5 separate regions of the Homo sapiens genome follow, and regions 2, 3, 4 and 5 are each linked to region 1. Evidence: promoter capture Hi-C in 16 types of primary human blood cells and fetal thymus (Javierre and others, 2016). All regions are on one chromosome and are shown on one strand. The core of a region is centred on a gene start or on the middle of the fragment in contact, and the rest is flanking DNA. Distances in the headings are between cores, read along the strand shown. Region 1 holds the start of ZNF195 (zinc finger protein 195). Region 2 has its middle 11 kb from the start of PHLDA2. Region 3 overlaps NAP1L4 (nucleosome assembly protein 1 like 4). Region 4 overlaps CARS1 (cysteinyl-tRNA synthetase 1). Region 5 overlaps OSBPL5 (oxysterol binding protein like 5).

Region 1 (4,566 bases), core at 1,260-3,759:
CACTTACACTTTCACCTCCACAGAAAAAGCAAAATTATTTATTGCTTTCAGACAATGAACTTGTCATTTAACTATTTCCATAACAAATCATATAGTAAACAATCACATGTGAACACTTTTAGAAGTGCTAAGTTCCATCTCCTACAACTTAGCATTAAGCTCAGACATCTAGAGAACAGGATATAAAACAGAGATACTCATGACAACAAATTCATCCTGCAAAAAGAGCTCATGTTCTGATGAATCTATGCAATTTACCAAGTAATCTACCATAATTTTTTTGTAGAAAATGTAAACATTCTCCACAGCCATCCAAGAAGCATTTTATGTTCCCTGGTAGCATTCCCAAAGCTAAGCCCTGGGATTCTGTTGGAAATCATCTTCCACAAAAGAACAGACCTAAGTAACTTTCTACCCTTAATCACTCTGGAGAAGAAAAAGGTATGTATGACTAGATATTTAACTTTTTTCCTGAAATTGACCTATTTCATGTCCTTTGTAAGTATTTTCTTACCTTTCAAGCTCTACTGATAAAATGTAAATTTACAATTAAAAATCCAACATTGCAGTAAGTGAATAAATTATTTCAAGGAGACACAGAGAGTGGCAGTGCCGACTGGAACACAGACACAGCTAATGACTTGTGTCAAGTCAGGCTATTCTATTCCTTGGGAGATTCTCCCACCTCCATCCTGTTCACCGAAGTGCTCACCGGCCACCCCCGATGATACACTGCACTGTGCCCCGCTGAGTGTCCCAGGTGAATTTTGCTTTACAGGTTTTGCACCATCTCACGGGGTGGAGTTTTTCTTGCTCTTTGAAACATTCTGTCTCCCTTCACAAATCTGAGAGTCCAAAGGGCAGAAATGATTTCGGTCTTTTCCCTCTGACAGGGGCATGTGATTGGCTGATCAGCCATGTGTCTCCAGGGATTGAAAGTTGGGTTGGGTGAAGACAATCTTAATGTCCTAAGTGGTTACCTCTTTAGAGGAAGAGTAGACCAGGAGATTTCTCTCAGCCCAGGGCATCCAGCTGCTCCCTGGAGAGGCCACACTTCATACCTCAGGCTGTCCTCTGAGAAATAACCCAGGGCCTGAAATTCACTAGATGCTCCAGCAGACATGGCCATGGTGGGCATCCTGTGTTATCCCTGGACAATACTGAAACTGAGGAAAAAGTCCAGAGGGTGGCTGAGAGCAAATCACCCTGTCAAGTTTCCAAAGTGGAACCTCAAACCAAAGACATTCTGGTAAGGTGTCTGTGCCTAGGGAAAATAAAAAGGAGGAGAGGCACAAAGACTTTTTACAATAGCGTCAGGGGATGATTCTCTGCTTTCCTGTCACGTGGAATGATTACAAACAGAAAACAAATCTCTTAAAAAGTGCCGTCCAGGCTGGGCGCAGTGGCTCACGACTGTAATCCCAGCACTTTGGGAGGCCAAGGCAGGCGGATCACATGAGGTCAGGAGTTCAAGACCAGCCTGGCCAACATGGTGAAACCCCGTCTCTACTAAAAATACAAAAATTAGCCGGGCGTGGTGGTGCAGGACTGTAATCTCAGCTACTCGGGAGGCTGAGGCAGGAGAATTGATTGAACCCGGGAGGCAGAGGTTGCAGTGAGCCGAGATCGCGCCACTGCACTCCAGCCTGGGGGACAGAGCGAGACTCCATCTCAAAAATAATAATAATTAAATAGCAGGCAATCCGACTGAGGTGGCTCTAGTGCCCTGGGTTCTTAGGTTAAAAAAAAAAATCTAACTCAGATGCGTTTCTTGCAAATGACTATCTTGCAGAAACAAAATTCAGGCTTCGTCAACCACAAACCTCTAATTAACTTCTGATTACAGGACCAGAAAATTTCAGCCTAGATAGCTGAAATCAGGAGATGACGTAACTGTACCGAACTAATGAATGAATGTGGTTTGCTTCCTCATGCACCTGATAAAAGCCTTTCCTTCAAGGCCGGCTGGTGGGACCTCCAAACCCAAAAAACATGGTTGGGTCCTCTGCCATTCATGAATCGCTCTTTGCTCAAATAAAACTCTTTCACATTTTTGCAAGGACTCCCTCGAGAGAAAGGAGGGACTGGGGCCCCCACGGGCTACAGATCATCCTCTTATGCACAAACCACCCACGGAGTCGGGATTCTCCCTTCCTGACTCGGGGAGACGAGGGTCTGCGGGCGAAGAGCTGCCGGGGGGACATGGCTCTGGGCTTGGGCCAAAGCCGCTCTGCAGGGATGCGCCGGGGCGCGCGGGGCCCGGCCGCCATGGTGCAGCTGGAGGGGCCTCGGGTCCGCGGAGCCCGGAACCCACCCGGGCAGCCCGGTTCCTCCCGAGCCGGTACCGCGGGTTCCAGTCCGCCCCTCCCTGTCTCTCAGGAGGCCTGGCCCCTACACTCACCATCTCCTGGCCTCCAGAGAGCCTGGCGTTTCACTTCTGGATCTCCCGGTGCCTGCGGGTCACACGACCTACGGCTAGCAGGGGACACAGAGCCGCGGGGACAGGAAGTGGAGCTCTGTCGGGACAAAGGCCCCGCTAGATCCCGGAAGCCGTCCTCTCCTCTCCAGACATGTGCCTGATTGGACAGTCCCCGCCCCTACTCCTCTGATTGGATAGGGCATCACGCCCCGCCCCCTCAGGCCCTGAGTGACAGGAGCTGTAATCAGACAATGGGCCGAATGAGACAGCAAGGACAGGTGCTGGCCGCGATCTTTTGGAGCGGGGCTTCCTGCCTGCGCTGTCCGGCCCCACCTAGAGGATATTTACATTTCATCTTGTGACTGCGGTTATGTTTATTTATAAATAATAAATATATGTTATTCACCAATGGAAAGAAGAAAATAAAGACAATCATTTTGAATTTTTATATTTTATGGCCTTCCTGGCTTTTGGTCCTTTGAACAGACAGCCTGAAATTTCAAAAAGGATTCAAGCCTCTAAGAATTAAAATGTAAGCCATGTGTGAATCTTAAATTTTCTAGTAGCCACGTTTTAAAATGTACTAAGAAACAGGTGAAGTTGATTGTAATAATTTAACCCAGTATGTAACCATTTTCCTCTATGGTCAATATACAATTGGTAAGGAAGTATATATTTTGGGGTACTAAATCTTTGAAGCTCACTCTGTATTTTACCTTTTCAGCACATTTCAGTTCAGACCAGCTGTATTCCTGTTATTCAATAGCCACACATGATCAATAGCTGCCACACTAAAGTGCAGCTCTGAGGTCTAACCTCCCTTATGTCAGGAAGTGGAGGGTCTGAAAGTCCCTTTTCAGCCAGAGGTGAGGGAACAGCCTCTTGCTACAAACATCTCTCCTCCGGTCGAAGGGTGGACGAGATGGTGATCCTAGAGAGCATAGGGGAAAGCAAAAGAAAATATCCACGGGTAGAGGACTGCTGCCCATCAATAATGGGGCCCTAAGAGGAGAGAACACATCTTCAGATCTGTCCATAGCCTTGACCTCCAACATTTAGATATGGAGGAAATAGACTAGAGGCAGACTTATCTTGCTATTTGGCCTTAGCCCTAATGATCAAGCTGTGATTGTCTGTTTCTTCCCGTGGTTGGGGGGCTGTGTGAGTAAAAGCACCAATCACATATATACATGTGTACATGCATTTCTGTATGACGGAACATTATCTTACAAAAGATCCAACTTTAAATAAGGGGGGAGAATTAGTACCTATAAAGTGCTTTCTTCTTGCAGGTAACTAGGAATCAACCTTTCATTGAATCCTGGCACCCTATCTGCCCTGGGTGCATGTATTAGTTAGCTATTGCATAACAAATCACCGAAAACTTAATAGCTCATGATTGAGTTCATCAGCCATTCACGCTGAACTCAACTGAGCTATTCTTGTCACAACTGGACTGCTTCATGTATGTATGGCCAGCTGCTGGTTGACTAGGTGGCTCTGCTTCTGGGGATGAGATGGCTATCAACAGTGGCACCTTCCTTCTCCCCACCATGGTATGTCATCCTCCAGCTGGCTAATCTCATAAAGATAGCAAGGTTCTGATAGCTTGATCTCATAAAGATAGCAAGGTTCTGAGAAACACAGAAGCATTTAAGACCTTTTGAGCCTAGGCCCAAAACTAGCACAAAAGCTGTCATATTCGCAGTTGATACGGTCTGGCTGTGTCCCCAGCCAAATCTCAACTTGAATTGTATCTCCCAGAATTCCCGTGTGTTGTGGGAGGGACCGGGGAAGGGGGTAATTGAGTCATGTGGGCGGGTCTTTCTCATGCTATTCTCATGTTAGTGAATAAGTCTCACGAGATCTGATGGGTTTATCAGGGGTTTCCACTTTTGCTTTCTCCTCATTTTTCTCTTGCCGCCACCACGAAAGAAGTGCCTTTTGCCTCCCGTCATGATTCTGAGGCCTCCCCAGCCATGTGGAACTGTAAGTCCAATTAAACCTCTTTTTGTTCGCATGTTCAGGAATGTCTTTATCAGCAGTGTGAAAACAAACTAATACAACAGTTTTCTATAGCCAGAGAAAATAGTGCCAGCCAGATGCAAAGTTTGGGAAACACATTCGGCCTCTTGATGGGAGGAGCT
Region 2 (4,566 bases), core at 1,225-3,724, 440 kb before region 1:
GTGTGAATACGCTGTGAATACGCTTAGTGTGAATATGCTCGGTGTGAATATGCTCGGTGTGAATATGCTCGGTGTGGTGTGAATATGCTTGTAATATGCTCGGTGTAAATATGCTCAGTGTGAAAATGCTTAGTGTGAATACGCTTAGTGTGAATATGCTTGGTGTGAATATGCTCGGTGTGAATATGCTTGGTGTGAATATGCTTGTAATATGCTCGGTGTGAATATGCTTTGTGTGAATATGCTTTGTGTGAATATGCTCAGTGTGAAAATGCTTAGTGTGAATACGCTTAGTGTGAATATGCTCGGTGTGAATATGCTCGGTGTGAATATGCTTAGTGTGAATACGCTGTGAATACGCTTAGTGTGAATATGCTGTGTGAATATGCTTAGTGTAACTATGCTTAGTGGCACTGAACTGTGCACTTTAAAAAATGGTTAAGAATGTAACTTGTGATGTACCCTTTACCAGTTTTAAAAATGCATTTACATATGAATATCCATGCAGGCGGGGGTATGAGCTTGTGTCTCTTCCTCTGTCTGGGCCATCTTCCAGGAACCCCCCACCCCAGCCCTCATTATCTGGAATCCTCCATGTCTCAGCCACCCCTTGTGATGGTTGGGCTTGGGCTGGGTCCCTGTTGCTGTCATCTTACATGGCACTGCCTTCCTGCACACCAGACATGGCACTGCTGGGCTAGCAAGGCCCTCAGATGTGTGGTAACTGCCAAAATGGCCTGCCAGTGGGGCTGTTCCTATTCACCCTTTCCCCCAAGGGCTGCAATGCCAATCTCCCCATGGCTAGGCCAATGGTGGGCACTCTGTACTTAAAAAAAAAAGTCAATCTGGGCAATAGCTCACGCCTGTAATCCAACACTTTGGGAGGTCAAGGTGAGTGGATCACTTGGGTTCAGGAGTTTGAGACCAGCCTGGCCCACATGGTGAAACCCTGTCTCTACTAAGAATAGAAAAAATTACCCTAGTGCAGTGGCATGCACCTGTAATCCCAGCTACTCGGGAGGCTGGGGCAGAAGAATTGCTTCACCCTGGGAGGTAGAGGTTGCAGTGAGCTGAGAAAGTGTCACTGCACTCCAGCCTGGGCCATAGAGTGAGACCCTGTCTCAGGAAAAACCAAACAACCAAACAAACGAACAAAACAACAACAACAACAACAACAAAACCCCACAATCTGGTGGTCAAAAACTGAGGTCTTCACACACATTTCTCTATCCCTGGGGTGGGGGCAGCCATCTCTCTGGGTGTCTGTGGCCTTTGGCGTGGCTGTCTTTTCCCCTCTTCATGTGCTTTGGTCTGTTTGAAAGACCCCTTTCATGGACTGAATGGTGGCCCCCAATAAGACATATCCATGTTCTACTCCCTGAAACCCACGAATGTTACCTTTGATGGCAAATGGGTGAACATGACCTTAGTGGCTAGGGTGTGATATAGGAAAGGCCCCTGAGAGCAGGAGCTTCCCCTGGACTACCCAGGTGGGCCTCACAAGGGAGAACTATGGAGAAGCAGGCATAGGGGTAGGAGGCCACGTGAGACAGAGGCAGAAATCGGAAGGAAGTGGCTGCAAGCCAAGGAATGCCTGGAGCCCCCAGATGACGAGGAAGGGTCCCCACATAAGGTCTGGTGTTCTGGTCCTTGGGGAGGGCAGCCCCTGCTGAAAAGGGGCAGGTTGAGACCCAGGGACCACTTCAGGCCCTCGCTGGCGGCCCCCAGGCTGGGGGCAGCAGACTCTAGCAACTCTGGCCAGTGCCTGCACCTGAGGCCCCATCTCCAGGCGTTCCCTCTTGTCCTCCCAGCCCTGCACCCGCCTTGCTCAGTGAGGCACTGTCCTCCCTCCTCGGACTGGCTTCCAGCCAGGCAGGCACTGGTGAGGGCCGGTGTGGGCAGCCCTGCCATGCCCAGGGTCTGGGTTCTGAGGAGGTGAAGCTTCTCCCCATGTCCCAGATACAGAAACTGAGACCTAGGGAGATTTGGAAACTTGGTGGACACCACAGACTTCTTGAGGAGCTCGACAAGGGTGATCTGTGTGGGTCCGCCCTGAGTGGGGTCCTGGACACAGCTGTAGCTGCCCCGTTTCTCCTGGGCTGGGCTGGGCTGGGCCAGGCTGTTGGGTTGTCATGGTAAGTAACATCCGGCTGCCACCCTCAGAGAGCCATGAGTCAGCATGGCCAGGATGGGCTAGTGATTGGCACCTTGGGGACAGCCTAGCAGGCGGGGCCTCCCTCAGGCACACCAAGGTGACCTGGCCTCGGCAAGAGGCGTCCAGGCCTCACCCTGCAAGAGCTGGGCCCTGGCTTCTGTCCTGAGACTCGGGTCTGCATCTCTTAAATGGGGAATGTCCCAGGCGCATGAGGTGCCTGGAAACCCACACCAAATTCAGCGCATCAGAAGCTCAGCCAGGGCCAGCCCGAGGAGGCGTCCTTCCAGGAGGCCCTGCTGTTGGGGGCCACTGCTTGCCAGTGTCTCCTGGTGGGTGGGGTCCAAACAGCTGGGCCTGGGGTCCCTTGGGCCCCCCACTCCACATGGGGATGCTCCCTGGGGCGGGCTGGGGAGGAGGTGCCTGCTCCAGCAGAAGGAACCTGGGAAGGCACCTGTTCTGAGGGTTTTGGGGCAGAGGCCGAAGTCCATGCCAGGCTGTGGCCAGGCTGGCCTGGCTGGCAGGGAACCACAGGCTTCTGCACACAGCAACCCCTTCTGCAGGCCCAGGGCTCCCTCAGGGCACTGCAGCTGGAGTTGGCTGAGTCTGGGACGGTCACTTCTCCCACCGCTGCCCCTGGCTGTTCCTCTGTTGCTCACCAGTTGCCCAGCCCTGAGCCCTGACTCAGAGCCAGGCAAGCCAAGGACCCAGCAGGGGCAGGTCAGAGGTCAGTAATATCAAGGTGTGCCTGGATGAGCCAGGCAGAGGCCAGGGGCTCCACCTACCCACCTGGCTGGCTGGTGGAGCCAGCTGGCTGCCCCCTACCCACCCCACCCCTGCCTCCCACCTCAGGGGCAAGCTTGGATCCTGGCAGCTCATGCTGACTCAGCCTGCCCAGCGATGGGGCTGGGGGCAGCCTAGGGCATTTTGAGAGTGGGACAAGATGGGTGGGGTGGCAGGAAGCCCTGGACCTGGGACTTGGGGAAGGGGGCTCTGGCCCCATGGGTGGCCCTTGGGCCTGGGGAGGTTTGCTGGGCAGCAGGACAGGAGCAGAGTGGGATGTCGGCTTGGTCCCAGCTCCACATAAACGGGAGTCATGAGCCTAGAGAGCAGACTGGCCAGGTAGGCTGACCTGGGGTACACACCACCCGCGGACCCACACGCCAGGCAGCTGTGGACAAGGGTCCCAGGTGACCCTGCTGGGGAAAGCAGCAGCCATCAGGTTCTAGGGAGCCATAGCTCCTGACTCAAGGGAAAAAACAGAATTTTAAGTGGAATCACCCTGTTTTGGGGACTTCTGAAAACTGAGCTTCAGGCCAGGCACGGTGGCTCACACGTGTAATCCCAGCACTTTGGGAGGCCAAGGTGGGTAGTTCACCTGAGGTCAGGAGTTCGAGACCAGCCTGGCCAACATGGTGAAACCCCATCTCTACTAAAAATACAAAAATTAGCCAGGTGCAGTGGTGCATGCCTGTCATCCCAACTACTTGGGAGACTGGGCAGGAGAATCGCTTGAACCTGGGAGGTGGAGATTGCAGTGAGCCGAGATGGTGTCACTGCACTCCAGGCTGGGCAATGGAGCGAGTCTCCGTCTCAAAAAAAAAAACAACGCTGAGCTTCATTGAGGACTAACTTATATACAACCAAATATACCCATTTTTGATGTAACTCAATGAATTCTGACAGACGTATACACCTGTGTAACCACTTCCATCCCTCTAAAGCGTTCCTTGGTCAGTCCCCCCACCCCAGATCCCTCCCAGGCAGTCACCGGCACTATAGCTTTGCAGGCTCTAGAACCGGACAGAAACAGGGCCCTCCAGGTCTTCTGTGCCTGGCTGCTTGCCGTGCGGGTTCTTTCCCTCCTTGCCCAGGAGCACCCGTGTGATGGCAGCTGACAGAAGCGTCTGAGCCACCTGTGCAGGGGGTGGGGGTGCCCCAGGCCCCACCTCCCATCTCCCGGGCTGCTCCCCAAACTCCTGCCCTGACCCCAGCGCCACTGGTTTTGAGTCTCAGTTCCCGCACAGGGTGAACAGTCACAGGAAGGGCAGGGGCTGGGGGAGCCCCAAGCGGGGTGGGGTGGGTGGGGCGGGGCTGGACGGTGAATGTCTGCCTCCCCAGCCAGGGGCTGAGTCGGGAAAAAGGAGGGCCTGGGCTAGCAGAGCTGAGGTTCTGTGGCAGACCCCCTGGCCTCCAGGACCAGAAGGGAAGCAGCCACCCTTCACCCAGGCCAGGCTGGGCGGCCGCCACAAGCCCCCACTTCCCAGCTGCCTTCCAGATGGTGGCTCTGGGCAAACCTCTCAACCACTCAGCGACTTTCGGTGACCACTGATGGCTGAGGTTCCTGAGCTGACAATGGCCTGGGCCTGGGATGGTTCCTGGGCTCCTTGGCCACTGGAGAATGACCTTCCCTT
Region 3 (4,566 bases), core at 1,297-3,796, 400 kb before region 1:
CCCATGGTGGTGTCCAGAAGCCACGAACAGAGATGAGATCAGTTCCTCAAAGTAAAAGAGCATCCACTAGCTCCCTTGCTCACTGTGGTGCCATAGACTTCACAGTCCAGGAGAGCCCAAGGCTCACTAGCTCTCTGCCAGCACTGTTCCCTAAGTTTTCTTTGCATGTGCTACTCGCCTCTGCCTTGAATGTCCTTCTGCCCAAACCCACCTCCCTCCAGGAAGCACTTCTGACCATTCCACCCCACTTAGGGCTAACCTACATGTGTAGTGAGCTCACAATACCAAGCTGTTTGTATTTATAAGCCCATTTCCCAATAAACCAATGAATGAGATCCTGACAAGGTAGTGACTGTCCTTTTACCCAGTTGTGACTATGAAGTGGCAGACATCTGGCTCATGACACAGACTCTTAACAATCTCCCTCTTAATGACACAATACAGAAATCCAAACCCAGCGCCCTTCCCTTGCTTAGAGCCAGTACATACCCGAGTATTCTCCCATCCCGAGTATTCTCCCATCCCGAGTATTCTCCCATGATGTGGGTAAGTCAAACACACCAAGCAGGCACTCAATTTTAAACATTCATAATAGAACTGCAAACACAACCACTAACATGAAGCACATGAAGTGTATTTAAGGTACGTAATTTGTATATATAAAACTGTGTACACATGTGTAGTATATAAATACTACATGCATATACAAACACATATGAATGGGTGCTAAAACCTCCGTGTGAAAGTTTGCTGAAGAGGAAGAGGATATCTACACGTGCCTGACAGATTGCTTCCAAGGTGAAAGGACCTTGGTAACAGAGAAGTCTGGCAGGCACTGTCTTAATCATCAATCTCAGTGTCCTTGGGCAGGTGCCGAGCCAACACCCTGTGCCTCCGGAACCAACGACCACTGCATCATGTTACCTGTGTGCCCTTCTTGCCAAAATGTTTACCCTGAATCTCATCAGGAAGAAACGACTGGGCAAATCCAGACTGTGAGCATTCTATAAGACAACAGTGGCCCAGAGCGCTGATATGTTGATGTATTAATAAAAGATGCAAAAGGTAGGGAGATGACTCTAGAACAAAACAAAACGCATGATCCTTGAATAGGTGCTAGATTCGGGCGTGGGGTAAAAATTGCTGAGAAAACCAGGGAAACAGGAGCATGACTGTCTATTAGAGAATGGTATTGCTCCAGTGTTAAGTTTCTTGGTAATGACATTGTAGAATTGTTTTAGGAAAATAGATATCCACCACTTGCTTTCAAACAGTTTGGAGGGAGTGGGGAGTACAGATATAGTTTTTTTTAATGGTGGAAAAATATCACATCTGTGAATTTATGAACAAAATGACATTCTTAGGATTTGCTTTCCAAAGGAAGGAAAGTAAAGGGTATAGACTTAAAAAAAAAAAAAAAAAATGGCCAGGAGCAGTGGTCTGTGCCTGTAGCCCCAACTACCTGGGAGGCTGCGGCAGGAAACTGCTTGAGCCCAGGAGTCCAAGACCAGCCTGGGTAACACAGCAAGGCTCCATCTCAAAAATAAGAAAAAAGACTGGTCATTTGTTAATCAATACTAAAGCTCACTGATGGTAGCTACAAGAAGGTAGACTGTACTATTACTCTCTTTACTACTGTAGAGTCTGAATTCCTATAATAAATACATCTTTTGTTAATGAGATACTGATTTTTCATTTTAATTACTCTAGCTTTCCTAAAACCACTGCAGTACAGGAATCCTTTACTTGCATTAATAAATGTTTCCAGAGAGAGGAACGTTCCCCATACTGGATGCAAACTCTCCATGTGCAGTGGACTGACCTGTGTTACTTGCATTTTTAGCAGCTTCCACGGAATCTGAAGGAACCCCATCTGAAAAACTAAAACAACAGTATGTTTAAAAAGTATTACTGTAAAGAAAGTTCCAAAGACATAGCACAAATGGACATGTTTCTTATTCAATATATTAAGAGGTATCTGTACAGTGACGTCAGATTTGGGCAGAAGAAAACTACCAATGTGCATGTTATCTCAGAGGCTGTCCTCTCTGCTATAAAAATATTCTACTACGTAACATCCCCTCTCCTCTCCCAAACATAAAGCCCTACAAAGTTCTTATTTCCAACCTTAGCCAAAGCTTCTTAGCTCTCATTTCTACAGCTTCTTTCCTCAAAAAATCTGCTCCCAGCCCTCAAACCAAACCCATCAACCAACGAACATGTTACTGTTTGGTCAGCTGCTCATGTGATCAGAGCAAGGCAGTCTTACCAAGTTAAGACAGTGCCCAAAGTGGCTTTGTAAAATTAGCCACAACAAGTGTAAAATGAGCCATGAAACAGTTTTTAAAGATGCCTGGACACACCTCCCTCACAAAAAATAAACATCAAATAATATACACAACTAAAAGTAACCCTCAATCCACAAAACAAAATCTTCCACTTGATCACTGACAACTACAGACTGTTAGGAGAGTGTCAAAATTACCTAACTTCACCCCAGGGGTGTTAAAGCATGGAGAGCAAAACGATTGCTTTCCATAAAAGATCTGTAGTGTCAATGTCTGAGGCACTGTTCATGTCGGAAGTAATTTCTTTACGTGCTCAAATACATACACAAGAAATGAGCCATCAGCTAGACGCTGAAATGCATTTAACTTTGATTCTAATTATTTATTGAAAAATGGCTTGGCTGTTGCTCACCAACTGAATTTTAAACTCCAATAAACAAAGTCCACTTTGGCTTACCTGTGATCTGCCATCTGAATGTTTTTATCCCCTATAAATTAAAAAGAGTTGTAATAATTATATTCATAAGCAAAAATGTTTGTTCAATATACTTTTTAAACAACGGTTATCTGTGGGATGGAGTCCACTAGAAGGGACAGGAGGGAACTTTCTAGAGTGATGAAAATGTTCTAGATCTTGACTGAGGTTACCTGAGTATATACACTTGTTAAAGCTTATTAAACTATACACTTCAGATCTGTGCATTTCATCACACACAAACTTTACTCATAAAAAAATTTCTCGGCCTGGCGCGGTGGTTCACGCCTGTAATCCAAGCACTTTGGGAGGCCGAGGTGGGTGGGTCACTTGAGCTCAGGAGTTCGAGACCGGCCTGACCAACATGGTGAAACCCCATCTCTACTAAAAATACAAAATTAGCTGAGCGTGGTGGTGCACGCCTGTAATCCCCGCTACTCAGGAGGCTGAGGCAGAAGAATCACTTGAACCCAGGAGGCGGAGGTTGCAGCGAGCGGAGATCATGCCACTGCACTCCAGCCTGGGCAACAAGAGTGAAACTCCATCTAAAAAAAAAAATAAAATAAAATAAAATTATCTTATTGGCACTAAAATAACCAGACTTCAGAATAACATTAATTCTAATTTGCCTTATTTTTTATAATACATTCGGCAACACAAACATACATTAATGATAGCCCAACCATTTTAGAGTAAGTCAAAGCATTTACTGGTGTTTACACTTTCAAATTAACTTATGGGATTATTTTCTAATTGCATTTGTTTATTCCGTATCTTCCATTACTTCTACACTGAGGATGTATTGCTTGTGTAAAAACCTTGTGTAATATACTCAGTATTATTCCACTTTTAAAGATGATTATTTCTATATTGGTAGAATTAGATGACATTGTAACTGAATATTAAGGGTGTGTTCTAGGGCATTTACTTCTTAAATAGAAGAACTTGATATTAATAAAACTAAAAAAAAGTTATCATTTTTTTTGAGACAGGATCTCAGTCACCAAGGCTGCAGTGTAGTGATGCAATCCTGGCTCACTGCAGCCTCAACTTACTGGGCTCAAGCAATCCTCCCATCTCAGCCTCCTGAGTAGCTGGGACAACAGGCGCAGGCCACCATGCCCAGCTAATTTTATTTTTTGTAGAGATAGGGTCTGGCTAAGTTGCCCAGGCTGAGTCCCAAACTCCTGGCCTCAAGAGATCCTCCCACCTCAGCCTACCAAAGTGTTGGGATTACAGGTGTGAGTCAACACGCCTGGCCTATACAATTTCAAAATCTAATCTAAATGCATTTAAAGTAACAGCTAAATGCACAGCTTAAAAAGGTCCTTAAATGTAAAATAATACAGGTGTGGTTACGAAGTTCCTTAAACTCAGATGTGGGAAATACACCTGAGGGCCTCGCTAAACGGTTGTTCCAGCTGAAAACTGGCCAATGTTCATTCTTCAGTACCTGAGCAAAGCCCAAACCACTGAATCACATAGCTTTAGGGTAAAACCAACAACAAAAAAACCCCTCTATATTTAACAAAAACAGTTCTAATTATGATCTATGACTGTCCTGTATTTAACTCAACTACTTTTTTAAAATTTTTATTGTTTAGAAATAAAACGTGCTATTTTTAAGATTCAAAATACAACAAATATTACACATTGTCTTTTTCAAAAAAAATAAATTATGTTTTAATGAAGAAGATGAAAACCAAAAAGAAAAAAAAAATGCAGCAGGCACAGTGGTTCATGCCTATAATCCCAGCACTTTGGGAGGCCAAAGTGGGCAGATTAGTTGAAGCTCAGGAGTTT
Region 4 (4,566 bases), core at 1,132-3,631, 340 kb before region 1:
TTGTAGAGATAGAGTCTCACTATGTTGTCCCGGCTGATCTCAAACTCCTGGGCTCAAGGGATCCTCTTGCCTTGGCCTCCCAAGGTGCTATGATTACAGGAACGAGCCACTGCACCTGGTCTGGGCTGGACAATTTGACCAACAGAACAGAATTAAGAGACACAAACACATGCCAACATGTAACAGAGATGAATTCGTGTCTTAGTCTGTTTTCTGTTTTTTTGTTTGTTTGTTCTTTTTTTTGTTTTCTGTTTTTTGTTTTGTTTTGTTTTGTTTTTTTGAGACAGTCTCACTCTGTTTCCCAGGCTGGAATGCAGTGGCGTGATCTCGGCTCACTGCAACCTCCGCCTCCTGGTTTCAAGCTATTCTCCTGCCTCAGCCTCCAGAGTAGCTGGGATTACAGACGCGCGCCACCACATTTGGCTAATTTTTGTATTTTTAGTAGCAACGGGGTTTTGCCATGTTGGCCAGGCTGGTCTCAAACCCCTGACCTCAGGTGATCCGCCCGCCTCAGCCTCCCAAAGTGCTAGGATTACAGGCGTGACCCACTGCGCCTGGCCGGGAATGGGTAAAATTTTTTTTCTTTTTGAGACGGAGTCTTGCTTCGTCGCCAGGCTGCAGTGCAACAGCACGATCTCGGCTCACTGCAACCTCTGACTCCCTGGTTCAAGGGATTCTCCCACCTCAGCCTCCCAAGTAGCTGGGATTACAGGCACACGCCACAACACCCAGCTAATTTTTTTTTTTTTATTTTTAGTAGAGACGGGGTTTCACCATGTTGGCCAGGATGGTCTCGATCTCCTGACCTCGTGATCTGCCCACCTCAGCCTCCCAAAGTGCTGGGATTACAGGCATGAGCCACGATGCCCTGCCTGGGAATGGGTAATTTTTAAATAAAATTTATTTCTTACAATTCTGTAGGCTGGAAAGTTCAAGGTCAAGGGGCCACATCTGTTCTGGGCCTTCTTGCTGGTGGGGACTTTTCCCAGAGTCCCAAGGTGGCGCAGAGCATCACATGGCCAGGGGGCTCATGAGGGCCAAACTGGCTTCTGTAACAGCCCCACTCTCATGATAACTACCCCACTTCTGTGATAACCCATTAATCCATTAACCCATTCATGAGGGCAGAGCTCTCATGACTCGATCACCTCTAAAAGGCCTTACCTCTTAATACTGTTACACTAGGGATTAAGTTTCAGCATGAGTTTTGGAGGGGACAAACATTCAAATCATAGTAATTAGTATCAGAAGACATAAGAATGATACAAAACAGTAAGAAAAGGACCAATAACCTCATGGGAAAGGGGGAGAGATGGGGGCACAGAATCACAGCTGGAAGCAAGCACTTGACAAGATGCTCAGTCTCAGGAGAGGTTGGAAAAAGGGACATTCAAACCACAGCAATCAGCACTTCACATTCATTGACTGATGAAAGGGAAGAATCCAACAATACAAATGCAGGTGTATGTGCAAATACACAGCACACCCAAAATGTGGTAGAAGAAGAAGAAATTTGCATAGACATTTCTTTCTTTTTTTTTAAGAGTCTGGGTCTCACTCTGCTGCCCAGGCTGGAGTGCAGTGGTGTGTTCATGGCTCACTGCAGCCTCAAACTCCTGGGCTCAGGTGATTGTCTCACCTCAGCCTCCCCAGTAGCTGGAACCACAGGCTTGCATCACCATGCTTGGCTAATTTTTAAAAGTTTTGTAGAAATAGAGTCTCACTATTTTGCCTAGGCTGGTCTGGAGCTCCTGGGCTCAAGTGATCCTCTTGCCCTGGCTTCCCAAAGTGCTGGGATTACAAGTGTGAGCCACTGTGCCTGGCCATATAGACATTTCTGATATGGCTACTATGAAGATAAAAGTGAGCCTAGAAGGTCTGTGTCTGCCACCTGAGAAAGGCCTGCCTACAGAGCTGGCCATTAGCTGGCATCCAGGAGCTGAAATGTCCCCTGTGCTAAGAGGCCGGGAAACCCAGCTCTGTGGCAGCAGCCCCCAGTGGGCTGTTGAACAAACACTGTGGCTTATGCAGGTGGAACACCAGCTTTCCTCCTGGGGAGTCAGGAATTGCGGCACGTGCCAGGCAGAGGGTGCCTATGTGATGGGCTTCCCTAGGGAGGGACATTTCACACATGTGGCTGCATTTTTTTCCTGGTGGGGGAGAGTGTGCTGTGTCCCCTCATGGGAGGCAGGGAGGAAGCTTCAGCAGCCTGCCCATGGATGATTGAAGACTCCGCCTGAGCTTCTGCTCCTCGCTGTGTCACTGCTACAAACCTTAGACAAGATGATAACTCGATGCCGAGTCTCATGAGTCCTTCTAGGGCCCCAGAATGTGTGGGCAGTGTTGGGAACCCCCGACAGTCACTCACATATATCCTACACAACCCAGCGATTCCACTTGCAGGTATATGGCCTAAAGAAACTTGCAAATGTCCACCTAGAGACAACACAAAACAACTCACAGTTCAGCAAAAGACACTCCACATCACTAGCCATTAAGGAAATGCAAACCAAAACCACAGTATACCACCTCACACCTACTGGGATGAAAAAAATGAAGAATAACAAGCTTTGGCAAGGATGTGGAGAAAACAGAACCCCATGCACTATGGGTGGGAATGTGTAATAGTGCAGCCACTGCAGAAACAATACGGTGGTTACGCAGAATATCAAAAATAGAATCATCACATGACCCAGCAATTCCACTTCCGTGTATATCCCCAAAAGAAGTGAAAGCAGGAACCCAAACAGATATTTGTACACCCAGGTTTATAGCAGCATTACTTGCATCTCCAAAAGGTGGAAACAACCCACGTGTCCACGGGCAGGTGAAAGGATGAGCAAAATGTGGCCCATCTATACACAACAGAGTATCATTCAGCCATAGGAAGGAAGCAGAGTCTGACATGCACTACAGCATGGGTCAACCATGGGCACACTATGCTGGGCAAAATAAACCAGACACAAAAAGACCCTGTCTCTACAAAAAAAAAGTTTTTAAAAATGGCTAAGATGGTAAATTTCTTATGATGTGTGTTTTACCACAATTAAAAAAAAAAAAAGAATATTAGTGGAACAACTGGGAAAAAAATTACAGCAGCATTGTTGGTAAGAAGGAAACCTAACTGCCCGTCCCAGGAGAACAGACAAACAGCTCGGCTCCCAGGCAGGCACTGAGGCAGTGACAGTGACCACATGTGGGTCGTCCCAGAAGCACAGCTTGGGTGAAAGCACACTGACGACTACATACACGTGGCGTGTTTCCGTGAAGTTTGGAAACAGGCGCAACGAAGCGATCTGCTGAGTCAGGACACAGAAGAGACCAAACTAGAAAGAAACATGCTGGCGAAGGGCAGACACAGACTCCCTGCCCCATCACTGAGGTGGGGCCAGGGCAGTGGTGAGGGAAGGCAGGGCTGCGGCCTCAGTGGGGCCTCTTTTTCTACACACAGCTGCAGCCGTCTCTTCTCTTTTCCATCGAGTTCTTAAAGGGTGACCAGCAGGCGGCGCTGGCACAAAGGAGAAGGCCTTCCTGACTGTGTCCAGGGCGCCAGCCACAGGGAAAGGCCTGAGGAAGAGGGCAGGGTCCCCTCTGCACCCAGGTCTCTGCCCTGTGTCTGAAGGAGATATTGGCAGGGGCAGGAGAGCTGGTCAACGTGAAGGCCCCAAGCTCAGTAGGTACCCACAGGCCTCAATGCTCAATTCAATGTTAATCCCTGCTCCTCCTTCTCCAGCTGGTGTGGGGAGAGTCCGCTGGAGAATCTTGGAACACTTCGACAGAAGGCTGCCTCCCCACGTTCCAAGTGCACCTCCTGCCTATCTGATGGAAGTGGTGGGAGGGTGTGGATCCCGAGTCTCCTTCCAGTGGCACAGGCTCTGCACCCAGGAAATGGGGCAAAGGGGTGTGGGAGGGGAGGGGCACTGACTCAGCCACCGCAGAACAGGGCCGCCTGCCACAGTGGAGCTACTGGAGACACAGAGTGTCTTCCACTAAGACAATCTGTGGAATCAATCCGTGCACACAGATCAGTCTATGCACGGCCCGACATTTGACCCGAACGGGCTGTCTGGGAGATGTGTGAAGCCTCACCTCCACACAGCTGTTGACTTCCTCTCCCGTGAGTCTGGACTGCACAGCTTTCTCAAGTGGCTCTGTGGCAAGCTGCACTGCGTGCTGAATCCGTTCGAGCATCTGCTTTTTATCGGGATCCGTGGTCTCATTTAATTTTACTGAAAATGGCTGCAACCATAAAGAGACGTCAAATCTATTAGATACTGCTCAGCAAAACCTAAATTCATAAAGGTGATTCCAGGTAGAAAACAGAACGGTTTTTCCCATGGCCCCATAGAGATAGAGAAGTGTGCAACCCAAGTGGCCAGGCAGTAAGGAACTAAGAGAGACTGAAGCTCCCGGCTCAGGAGCTCCTGGTTCTGCCCTCTCACGTGTGACCCTGGACAGGGCACCTAACCTCTCTGTGCCTCAGTTTCTCCAATGCAAATTGGGTGTGAGAGCAGTATTTCTAGGGCTGTTCTGGGGATGAGGAAAAGTAGGCCACCCAGTGTGTTC
Region 5 (4,566 bases), core at 917-3,416, 270 kb before region 1:
GATTGAGGACTTCCCAAGGAGGCAGACCCGGCCTGGGGACAGGTGTGCCAGGGGAGGCAGCCCTGCAGAGGCACCTGGGGATGCTCACAGCACATCCCCACGCACCTCCACCACCCACATTGCTGACGAGGGGCTGGCATAAGTGACCCCTCCAGGTCACAAACCCAGAACACTCGGAACCAGCCTCCCACCCTGATGGCCACCCACAGGTTTCTGCAGGTGGAGTTAGGGAGGAGGGTCCTCCCTCACTGGGAAGCACTGGTCAGGGTGCCAGGGGCTCCTGCCAGCCTGGAGTCCAGGGAGGAGGGTGGGGAAGGCTGAGGAGGGGCTTGCACACCAGGGAGGAGACCTGCCTGAGGCCGCCCAGAGGCTCTGTGGGCAGCGGTGGAGCAGGGGCTGGTCGACAGCTGGGCGCCTCCAAGCCCCACTCTGGGCCCTGTGCCCTGCTGCCTTCCTAAGCAGGGTGACAGCACCACCCAAGGGTCCTCCTGTGGGGCACGTGTCCACCTGGGTGACACTGATGTCCTGGTGTGATAACAGCGGCCCCCGCACTCAGAGGAGCATCTCGTGGTGGCCTGTGACAGGTCACACTATTAATAAGGTTTTTGTTTGTTTGTTTTGAGATGGGGTTTTGCTCTTGTTGCCCAGGTGGGAGCACAATGGCACGATCTCAGCTCACCGCAACCTCTGCCTCCCGGGTTCAAGCGATTCTCCTGCCTCACCCTCCTGAGTAGCTGGGATTACAGGCATGCACCACCACACCCGGCTAATTTTGTATTTTTAGTAGAGACAGGGTTTCCTCATGTTGGTCAGGCTGGTCTCGAACTCCCGACCTCAGGTGATCTGCCTGCCTTGGCCTCCCAAAGTGCTGGGATTACAGGTGTGAGCCACCACACCGGGTCAATAAGTGTGTTTTTTGTTTTTGTTTTTTTGTTGTTTTGAGATGGAGTCTCGCTCTGTCACCCAGGCTGGAGTGCAGTAGGGTGATCTCAGCTCGCTGCAACCTCTGACTCCAGGGTTCAAGTGATTCTCCTGCCTCAACCTCCCAAGTAGCTGGGATTACAGGTGCCTGCCTGTAATTTTTTTGTATTTTTAGTAGAGATGGGGTTTCACCATGTTGGCCAGGCTGGTCTCAACCTCTGGGCCTCAAGTGATCTGCGTCGGCCTCCCAAAGTGCTGGGATTACAGGTGTGAGCCACTGTGCCTGGGCTGTTAGTAAGTGTTATTCAAAGAAAGCCTCCTGGGGTCACGTCAGGTGGGAGGATGGGGCTGAAGAGCATTGAAGGCGGTTCTGTGCCTCTCTGAGCCTCTGCCTTTTCGAGCTCCTGGAGACAGTGAGTTTTTCTCCCTCACTTTGAGATCCATTAAATCCTGCTCTTCGTGGGGCATCTCAGGGTCCAGTGTAGGGAGGGGCCTGCCTAGACAGTGGCTCCTGGGTCTCTAGAGCTGCCCTTCTCATTGGGTTGGGGGGATATCTGGGATCCTGCTGGTTCCACTGCAGGCTTGGTTGGTGCCAGAGCGGCCAAGCCTGGGCGGAACACCAGGGTTGGGGGAGGGATGGCAGTGGATGGTGGTGGGGAGCTGGAGGGGTCACAACTGCCGAGTTGGCCCCAGGGCCTGAACACGTGTGCTTTGTAGCTGCCACAAAGGACTAGACATCCTGAATATTATGCATCCTTTGAAGCTCATTCCGAGACCTCTTCCTCCTCTTCCTGGAAGCCCACCCTGATACCCACAGGGGCTGCAGACACCTCTCCTCCCGAATGGTGGCCCACACCCTATCAGGGGCTCAGCTCACACCTCAGCCCAACCTGCCTTATCTGATGGTTGGTTATCCACCTCACCCAGGAGCACAGAGGCTGTGGGCTGCCCTGGCCATCCCCGGGCCTGCATGGGACCTGGCACATAGTGGGGCACTCAGGATGGCCCAGGAAGGAGCATGGATGTGGCATCTGACCACCAGGGGTGATGTGGCACCGAGACTCCAACCTGAGAGGCACCGGAGCCCCGTGGTCAAGGCCAGACTGCTTTAGGTCTGCACCACCGGCGGGATGGGAGCCCTTCACCCCACTGCTCTGGGAGGCATCACCCTGGGGTTAGAGGAGGTGGAGCAACCGCATTTACCCAGAGCAGCCACTGGAGGGCGAGGTGGGGTAGGGCCCCAACCTCAGGTTAGAGGGAGGAACGGCCAAGAGGGAATCCCTCCAGGTGGAGGATCATCGCAGTCACAGCTGCCTGAGCGGCCACTCAGGGAACAGCAACAGCGTGCAATGCATTTGGGAGTCAGGGAAATTCTCGTTCTAGCACTTTCTTGCTGGCAGTTTGCCTGTGCCTCAGTTTCCTGACCTGTCTAATGTGGATGATAACAGTAGAACCTGTTGTTTCAATGGTGCCTGGTGTGAAAGGAAAATCTTGGGCCCCTCAAATCACTAAGCTAAAGGGAAAAACCCAAGCTGGGAACTGCTTAGGGCCAACCTGCCTCCCATTCTATTCCAAGTCACCCCTCTGCTCACTGAGATAAATGCATATCTCATTGTCTCCTTTGGAGAAGCTCATCAGAAACTCAAAAAAATGCAACCATCTTTCTCTTATCTACCTATGACCTGGAAGCCCCTCCCCGCTTGAAGTTGTCCCGCCTTTCCAGACCAAACCAATGTTCATCTTACATATGTTGGTTAATGTCTCATGTCTCCCTAAAACCAAACTGTGCTCTGACCACCCTGGGCACATCGTCAGGACCTCCTGAGGCTGTGTCACAGGTAGGCGTCTTCAACCTTGGCAAAATAAACTTTCTAAATTAACTGAGACCTGTCTCAGATTTTCAGGGTTCAAACATTTTGGTAACCACTGAAGGATTCTGAGTGGAGATGCCCCTGACTTTTCACAAGTCTCCTATTGGTGCTTGGTACCAGCTTGAGCTAACTTTATGGCTCAAACCAATAAGACAATTTGCTGAGGCCTGGAAGCACCTCCCCCCGTGCCCCACCCCCACCCCCTGCCACAGAGAATCCCTGATCTCTCAAAATTTGGTCGAGATCTAAAGTTTATTTTGTTTTACAACTTCTCTTTTTGGAGTTTTACTTGCTTCCGATACAAGGAAGGCAAGTTTTCCCTGCTTCCATGACGATGGAAGGCAGGTAACTCCTTTATGGAGTTCGAGCTTGCTTCCAACAGGGAAGATGAATTTTTTTTTTTTCCTGCTCCCAGGATGGTGGAGATCTGAGTTTTCAGCCTGAGACCCATCCCTAGGGAAGTAACTGAATTGTGGTTTGTCTTAGCTAAAGTTAAGATTAACAACCAGCTGGTCTTAATTTCTCCTTACCATTAGAGCACTCAGTGATCACGTAAGTTGTGCGATTGTTTGTTTCGCTTAACTGTTTTTTTGTTGTTGATTGTTTCTGTTTTTGTTGTTTTGGTCTTTTTCCCATTGACCTCTATCTGGCTTGATCAAATCTGAAGGAAGTTCCAAATTATGGGGAACAAGGCCTCTGAAGTGGCTGAATTCCCCTCCCCACCCCCACACACAATGGTGGCGTGATGGGGGGAGAAAAACGGCCAGCAAAAGGAAAAAAAAAAGAGGAAAGATTTTGATTTTGACTACTAAGGGGCTTTATTCATATAACAAGGCCACATTTTCACTAGCTAGGCCAAACTGAAAGAGTAATGACTGTACTTCTGTGTCCTCGTTGAAATTTGTCCTAGTTGAAATATGGAATGAGATTTAAAAAGATTTTTTCAAAGAAGCTCAATGGTTAAAAGTCAGTTTAATGAAAAGCTAACATCCAAGCTGTGTGTGTGTGTGTGCATATGTGTGCGCGCATGTGTGTGCATGTGTGTGTGTGTGCGCGCATGTGTGTGCATGTGTGTGTATGTGTGCGCGCATGTGTGTGCATGTGTATGTGTGTGTGCATGTGTGTGTGCATGTGTGTGTGCATATGTGTGTGTGCATGTGTGTGTGTGCGCATATGTGTGTGTTTGTATTTAAGAGACCTTCATGTTTCTGTTTTTGTTTTTCTCCTAGGACCTTGTCTTTTTTTGAGCAAAAGGGTTTTTTCTTCTCAGTTGACTGAATTCTGTTTCTTGATTTACTTCTGCTGTCTCTCCTTTCTCTTGCACCTTCTGCCGCATGGGGGACCTAAAATAGTTTATAGTAGCCTGGGGTTCCTTAAAGAAAATGGAGAGGGTGCCAGACTCCCCTTGGGGGAGAAACTTGTTTTTTCTTATGAAACCCCAAGAATGTAAACAGACAAGTTTGTCTCAGCTCTTAAACTGCTTACTTTTGTATTGTGTAACCTGTTTTGTGTTTTCTTTTCTTTTTTTTTTTTTTTTTGACTAAAGTAGTTATTGCAACAGTGGTTACTCTTGGGCTTTTAAGGAAGAGTGTGGTTTAGACACTTAGAAATGTCTTTGTTTAAAAAAAATTTGTAAGTGCACTATAAAAGCATCACGTGGTCTAACCTCATGATAATTCTCCCTTTCTGGAGACCTAGGATTCAGTGTGGGCTCTTCCCAGAGCTCAGAGATCCAGTTAAATGATAGGTAGTCCCTACTACATAAAATTGGTCT

Evidence for each region. The method cuts DNA at HindIII sites, captures the fragments that hold promoters and counts their contacts. A CHiCAGO score of 5 or more calls a contact.
Region 2: a contact is called between a fragment that was not itself captured here and the fragment with the promoter of ZNF195 in region 1, in 1 of 17 cell types (erythroblasts). The highest score is 6.0, in erythroblasts.
Region 3: a fragment that was not itself captured here is called in contact with the fragment with the promoter of ZNF195 in region 1 in 2 of 17 cell types (erythroblasts and M2 macrophages); the score reaches 5.2 in erythroblasts.
Region 4: a fragment that was not itself captured here is called in contact with the fragment with the promoter of ZNF195 in region 1 in 1 of 17 cell types (erythroblasts); the score reaches 5.2 in erythroblasts.
Region 5: a contact is called between a fragment that was not itself captured here and the fragment with the promoter of ZNF195 in region 1, in 1 of 17 cell types (erythroblasts). The highest score is 7.2, in erythroblasts.

The regions. Positions count from the first base shown.
Region 1 is chr11:3,376,637-3,381,202 of GRCh38, forward strand. ZNF195 (zinc finger protein 195) reads right to left here and starts at 2,510. Exons shown (of 6, transcript NM_001130520.3): 1 at 2,402-2,510. The coding sequence starts at 2,404. It also overlaps the pseudogene TSSC2. RefSeq lists enhancers at 2,211-2,774, 2,463-2,757 and a silencer at 2,216-2,285. The HindIII fragment of the contact is 5,109 bases long and covers 1-4,566 here.
Region 2 is chr11:2,938,551-2,943,116 of GRCh38, forward strand. No RefSeq gene overlaps it. Among named protein-coding and RNA genes, the nearest start is that of PHLDA2, 11 kb to the left of the region's middle. RefSeq lists a silencer at 1,559-1,735. The HindIII fragment of the contact is 1,070 bases long and covers 1,940-3,009 here.
Region 3 is chr11:2,976,462-2,981,027 of GRCh38, forward strand. It overlaps NAP1L4 (nucleosome assembly protein 1 like 4), which reads right to left. Exons shown (of 16, transcript NM_005969.4): 2 at 2,746-2,776; 3 at 1,823-1,881. The coding sequence starts at 2,759. Among named protein-coding and RNA genes, the nearest start is that of NAP1L4, 14 kb to the right of the region's middle. The HindIII fragment of the contact is 821 bases long and covers 2,137-2,957 here.
Region 4 is chr11:3,033,961-3,038,526 of GRCh38, forward strand. It overlaps CARS1 (cysteinyl-tRNA synthetase 1), which reads right to left. Exons shown (of 23, transcript NM_001014437.3): 7 at 4,090-4,239. All of the region lies in intron 1 of CARS1-AS1 (CARS1 antisense RNA 1), which reads left to right. Among named protein-coding and RNA genes, the nearest start is that of CARS1-AS1, 6.8 kb to the left of the region's middle. The HindIII fragment of the contact is 369 bases long and covers 2,198-2,566 here.
Region 5 is chr11:3,108,166-3,112,731 of GRCh38, forward strand. All of the region lies in intron 7 of OSBPL5 (oxysterol binding protein like 5), which reads right to left. Among named protein-coding and RNA genes, the nearest start is that of CARS1, 53 kb to the left of the region's middle. RefSeq lists a silencer at 2,010-2,069. The HindIII fragment of the contact is 7,730 bases long and covers 1-4,566 here.